2 separate regions of the Homo sapiens genome follow, and region 2 is linked to region 1. Evidence: promoter capture Hi-C in human tissues and cell types (Jung and others, 2019). All regions are on one chromosome and are shown on one strand. Each heading gives the region's core, a stretch centred on a gene start or on the middle of the fragment in contact. The rest is flanking DNA. Distances are from core to core; before and after follow the strand shown. Region 1 holds the start of HIVEP2 (HIVEP zinc finger 2). Region 2 overlaps LOC105378036 (a long non-coding RNA gene).

The links. The method cuts DNA at HindIII sites, captures the fragments that hold promoters and counts their contacts. A contact is called where the count stands out against the background at its distance.
Region 2: a fragment that was not itself captured here is called in contact with the fragment with the promoter of HIVEP2 in region 1 in 1 of the 25 tissues and cell types used here (spleen).

Annotation. Positions count from the first base shown.
Region 1 is chr6:142,943,813-142,946,531 of GRCh38, reverse strand. HIVEP2 (HIVEP zinc finger 2) reads left to right here and starts at 1,356. Exons shown (of 10, transcript NM_006734.4): 1 at 1,356-1,433. HIVEP2-DT (HIVEP2 divergent transcript) reads right to left here and starts at 43. Exons shown (of 3, transcript XR_001744397.3): 1 at 1-43. RefSeq lists silencers at 1-76, 127-756, 987-1,216, 1,417-1,516, 1,657-1,726. The HindIII fragment of the contact is 8,201 bases long and covers 1-2,719 here.
Region 2 is chr6:144,112,566-144,115,265 of GRCh38, reverse strand. It overlaps LOC105378036 (a long non-coding RNA gene), which reads right to left. Exons shown (of 4, transcript XR_943089.3): 3 at 2,336-2,413. Among named protein-coding and RNA genes, the nearest start is that of SF3B5, 18 kb to the right of the region's middle. The HindIII fragment of the contact is 3,737 bases long and covers 1-2,700 here.

The DNA.
Region 1 (2,719 bases), core at 107-2,606:
CCCGCGCGCCGCACATCCCTCTCTCGCTCACTGGCTCCAGACTGGTTTTTCTGGTTCAGCCTCCCTCCCTGGGACGCGCTGGGGGATCCGATGACGTCGTTGGCTGAGTCTCTCCCTCTTCCTCCCTCCCTCCCTCCGCCTCTCCCCCCGTCCGCCCTCGCCGCGCACTCCTCCTAGTAACTTCTGTTCGGGGAGGCGCTGCCAGGAATAACCCGGTGCGTCCACAGCCCGGGAGGGGAGGCGGCCGCTGCGGCTCCCGCACGCAGACAGCTGCGGCCCGGGCCTCGCGGCTCCCGCCTGAGCCCGGCGGCCCCTGCCCCGGGCCCATCTCCGTACAGTGTCAGAAAAATAAATAAAGGCAAGAGGAGCCTGGGCTGGCGGTCGGGATCTTTTCCCTCCCTCCGCGCCCGCCCTCCCTCTGTCCTTAAGGAAATGCTACCAGACACCCCCCACCAGACACGCTCAGCCTTGGCGAGGAGCGGCCGCCGCGGCAGCGAGAACAAGGGCACCAGGGGGGTTTCCTCCCCCTCCTCCTCTCCCTCCTCCTCCCCGTCCTCCTTCTCCTCCTCCTCAGCGGTGACTTTCCAGGTGAGCGGCCGCCGCGGCTGCGAGGATCCCCCTCGCCCGCTGGGGCTCGGGCCGCCGCGTCGCGCCCTCCTCCCGCCCCTGTCACCCGGCGGCGGCCGGGAGCTGACAGCCGCCCGAGGGGCTCGCGGCCCGGAGGCGGGCGGCCGGCGGGAGGCGGGCTGGAGGTGAGGGGGTGGAGAGGAGGAGAGCGGGGCGCCGCCGAGCGCCGTCGTTCCCCGCAGGAGGGTCTCCGCACAAACATCTTCGGTGACTGTGGCACAAGTCTTTGCCAAGTTGTGTCTTGGACCTTGACGCTCCACGGAGCCCAGAGCAACTTGGAGGGTCTCCCGGCTCGTTCACAGCGTTCCTCCACGTCTCGCGTCTGGGGTGCTGGGTGCAGCCTCGGGGTGCGCGGAGGGCGGACCGGCCACCGCGAGAGCGGAGCGGCGGGAATCTAGGTCCCTCCTCGGCTCGGTAAGTGGCCTGGACGCTGGGTTTTTCCTGCCTCCTTCGGCGCTGGGAGCTTGTTTCACTTTATATTGGAATCGCCGCCGCCGAACTCCGTCCCCCGCTCCCCGGCGTGTGCCCCCAGCCCCTTCCCGGTGGCCCGAGGGTGAGGGTCGGAGGGGGCGGGGATGGGGGAGACCGCGGGAGGGGTGTCGGGCGCGTGGGGAAATGCGGGGAATACCCTGGCCGCGGATCTATGCAGATGAGGGGAGGCTGCTTTGCGTAATGTCCTGGGGGGAGGGGGCCGCGCGGGAGCGCTGGAGGCAGGAATGTGCCTGCTTACTAATGAGCGACGTGCACCGGCGCGCACGGCCCGGCCACCGCTGCGGCTGCGGCGGCCGGCGGCGGCCCGTTGTCAGGTAGCGGGGGAGGGGGCCGCGGCGCGCGGCGCAGGCGGCCGGGCGGGCTGGCGGCGCGAGGCCCGGGCCGCCGGCCTGCGGCCGAGCGAGCGCAGCGAAGGCGCTGGCTCTGGGCATTTCAGTGACTCCCTTTACCTCCCGGGCAAGGAAGGAAGGAAGGAAGGAGCGAAGGAAGGAAGCGAGGAAGGAGGGGACTGTCTCGATGGAAGGTTCAGGCGGAGGCGCCCTCGCCTTGCGGGTGCACCGGCTGCAGAGCGGCTCTGGCCGCTGCCGGCTGGACCCGGGCGCGTGGAGACGGGTGGGGGCGGTTTGCATGCGTGTTTGTCTGTCCGTCTGGCGGGGGATCGGGAAGGGACATGTGTGTTTGGGCTGTGCACTGTGGGGAACTGGGTCTGCGCCTTTATGTCTGTTCCCTGAAGTGGGTGGAACGTTGGCCCGTTCCGGGAATGTTCCATGACGTGGTGCAGCCACAGGAAGGGGGTTAACGAGGGGCTCTCTGCCGCGGCGGCACTGCCGGCTGCTATCAAAGCAGATGTGCTGCTGCTGCTCCTCCTCCTCTTTCACCTCCTTTCACCCCCACCCCCCGCCTTTCCATTCTGTGCCTCTGGTACTGGTAGGGGTGAGACAGGAAAACATTGCTCTGGGTGTGTGCGTGTGTGTGTGTGTGTGTGGGTGTGTGGGGGAGGGGGTGCTGATGTGCATGTGTGGGGTCTGTCGTATTTGGTGGGGGGGGGGGGTGGACTCCAGATCCGCTCTGCTACCCCAGCTGTTATCACAGATCGGTGCGCTTTATACGCATGTGCCTCCCGCGTTCTGTCCCTCTTACATAACACATCCAGTGCAGCAGAGGACATGAGAAAATGCGACCCCAACCCTCCAAGCCCAAATTGGGTGAGGGGATAGAAGGTCAGGAAGCGTCCCTGGGTGTTGTCCTTCAGGGACTTGGTTCCCAGTGGGGGAAAGGAAGAAGGGAAGGAGGGTTTCTTCAAGTGGCTCCTCTCATCTCTGACTTAAAAGCATCTAACTAAAAAGGACTGCAGGCACTAGTCTTCCCTAACGGGAAAGCTTGTAACTAGCTACACCAAGGGAACGGGGGCACTTTAACCTCGGGAGTGCGGAGAAGAGAGAGGGTCCTTAATCAAGACACTTGGAGGAGAGAAGCAATAATGTGTGGGCGGCGGATGGGGGGCGCTGGGGATGACTTCGAGGAGACCAGAGGAATCTCTTGATAATAGGTTTCACTGGAGGCCTTAGGACACCTGTAATGGCTTAGCATTCACACAGGA
Region 2 (2,700 bases), core at 126-2,625, 1.2 Mb before region 1:
ATGGTGATTATCAGGAACTAGCATGGAGAGGGCTGAGGATTGAGGAGATATTGGGCAAAGAATATAAAATTTCAGCCAGTCAGGAAGAACAAGTTCAAGATATCTATTGTACAATAAGATAACTATAGTTAATAACAATGTATGATATATTTGAAAATTGCTAACAGAGTAAATGTTAAGTGTTCTCACTGCAAATAAATGGTATGTGAGGCAATGCATTTATTAATTAGCTTGATTTAGCCATTTTACAACCCATTCATATTTCAAAACATCATATTGTACACCATAAATATATGTAATTTTAATTTGCCAATTTAAAAATAAAAAAGAAGAAAGCTCATTTTGATCACCCCCAAAGGATGCCTTATGCCCCAGTAAGTCCCCAGCCACAGAGGCAATCATTTTTCTGATTTATTTTACCAATAATTAGTTTTGCCTAATCTAAAAATTCATATAAATTGAATAGCTCATTTTAAAAAATAGAATAAAATGTTCTAAGGGATAAGATAGATGTGCAGCCATCAAGGATATTGCTCAATATATATAAAATCAAAAGAAAAACCAAGAGTAGATGAGCGGAAGACTGTGGTCAGCTACTCCAATAGAAAGTCAGGATTCCTTGCCCAGTTTACAAACCTCAGGTAGTTTTCAAACCCACTACAGAACATTCCCCTTGACTGAAAGAGAGGCCAGGTCCACATGAAGAAGGACACTGCAACACCAGGACAAATGTATACAGTAGCGATTCCTCTAGCTATTCCCCAAAAGGTCTTTGGCTATACACTAGGGTATCATGCTCTGGAAATGGGAATACATAGCTTTTATGAGGACTGTTAGATATACGGTCTGAATTGATGCAGATACCTAGAGAACAAAAGCATCTTCATGGACTTCTTGGTAGAGCAGAAGTATATGAGGTTCAAGTAATTAATGGAGTCCTAGCTGGACACATGTGTCCTCTGGTCTACAGATTCACACAGAGATCATTTTCCCAGTTTCTGAATGTATAATTGGAACAGACATATTAGGATTTTACAGAACCTTCATATTATTTCATTGACTTATAGAGTAAGAGCTATTGTAGTAGGAATGGCAAGTAGAAGCCCCTAAAACTACATTCTCACCCCATTGCCAAGACTATAAATCAAAAGCAACGTTGCATCCCAGGAGTGACATGGCAGAGTTTAGCATCACCCTGAGAAATTTAAAGGATATAGGGGTGCTGGATTTCATTATAAACCCATATAATTCACCATTCGGCCCCCTAGAAAATCAGGTGAATCAGAGCATATGACCTTGAACTACTACAAACTTCTCCAAGTAGTAACTTCAATAACATCTTCTGTATTCGATGTGACATCTTTACTATAGCAGATTAACACTACTGCTTGTGTGGTTAGTGGCTATTGATCTGCTTCCATTTTGCTCTCTATCATTCAGAAGGACAAGAAACACACACGGGATGGCTAACAGTTACACACTCACGGTCTTGTCCAAGCACTATGTCAATTCTCTAGATCTCTGCCGTGATAGTGCAAAGGGTTCTGGGCCATCTGAACAGTCCACAGAACTTCACTTGGGGTCACTAAGTGGGTGACATCATGTTATTTGGACCTTAGGAGCAAGAAATGGCGATTATTCTGGACGTCTTATTAAGACACGTAATCTAAACGGAGGAAGAAAAACACTACAAAGATTCAGCAGCCATACACTTCAATAAAGTTTTTAGGCATCCACATGCTGGAATATGCTGAGACATCCCTTCCAAGGTAAACGACAAGTTTCTATACATCACACCTTCCTTTACAGGCCATTTTGGAGGCAAAATATATAAAACACTTGGGAATACTCTTCAACAAACTGTTGGAATAATCTGGAAACTGTTAATTTTGACTTGGGCCAAGAACGAAAAAGACTCTGAAGCAGGTTCCTGCTGTGTTCCAAGCAACCCTGAAGCTTGGGTCCAACAATATAAACTCTGTCTCACCATGGCTGATCTACCTACTGTTGCTGCTAGATGTCTAAACTTTCAGCAACAAAGATCACTCCCGAGTACTTGATATGGTACCATTCCTTCTTTTTCCCCTCACCCTTATAGAGGTATACCTGACACATAAAAATTTTATGTATCTAAGGTGTCCATGTGGAGATCTGATGTACATACACACTGTGTAATGATGATCACAATCAAGCTAATTAATACACCTATCATCTCTACCTTTTCATGGTAGAAAAACGCTTAAGTAGATCTTAGCAATCTTGAAAGCAAATTTCAAGTATAAAATACAGTATCAATTATAGTCACCATGCTGTATATCAGATCCCTAGAACTTACTTTTCTTATTGGTATTCTTCCTTCAGATGACCAACTAGTCATTCGGCGGCCTATTGTTTATATCAGTTCCATTCAACTCTGGAAAAAAAAATTTATCTTGAATGGGATTGACACATATTCCAGATATGTTTTTACTTTTCCTGCCTGTAGTGCCTCAGCTATCTCCACTGTGTGCAAGCTCATAAAGTGTATGACCTACTGACCTGGGATGGCGCCTAACATTGTCTTTGAACCACGAGACTGTCTTCATAGCAACTGAGGTATGGCATTGGGCATGTGGTTGTGGATCATGCACCATCTAGAAACTGCCATCATGAAAGAGTAGTGAAATTGCCTCTTGAAGTTACAGCTAAAGTGCTGGCTGG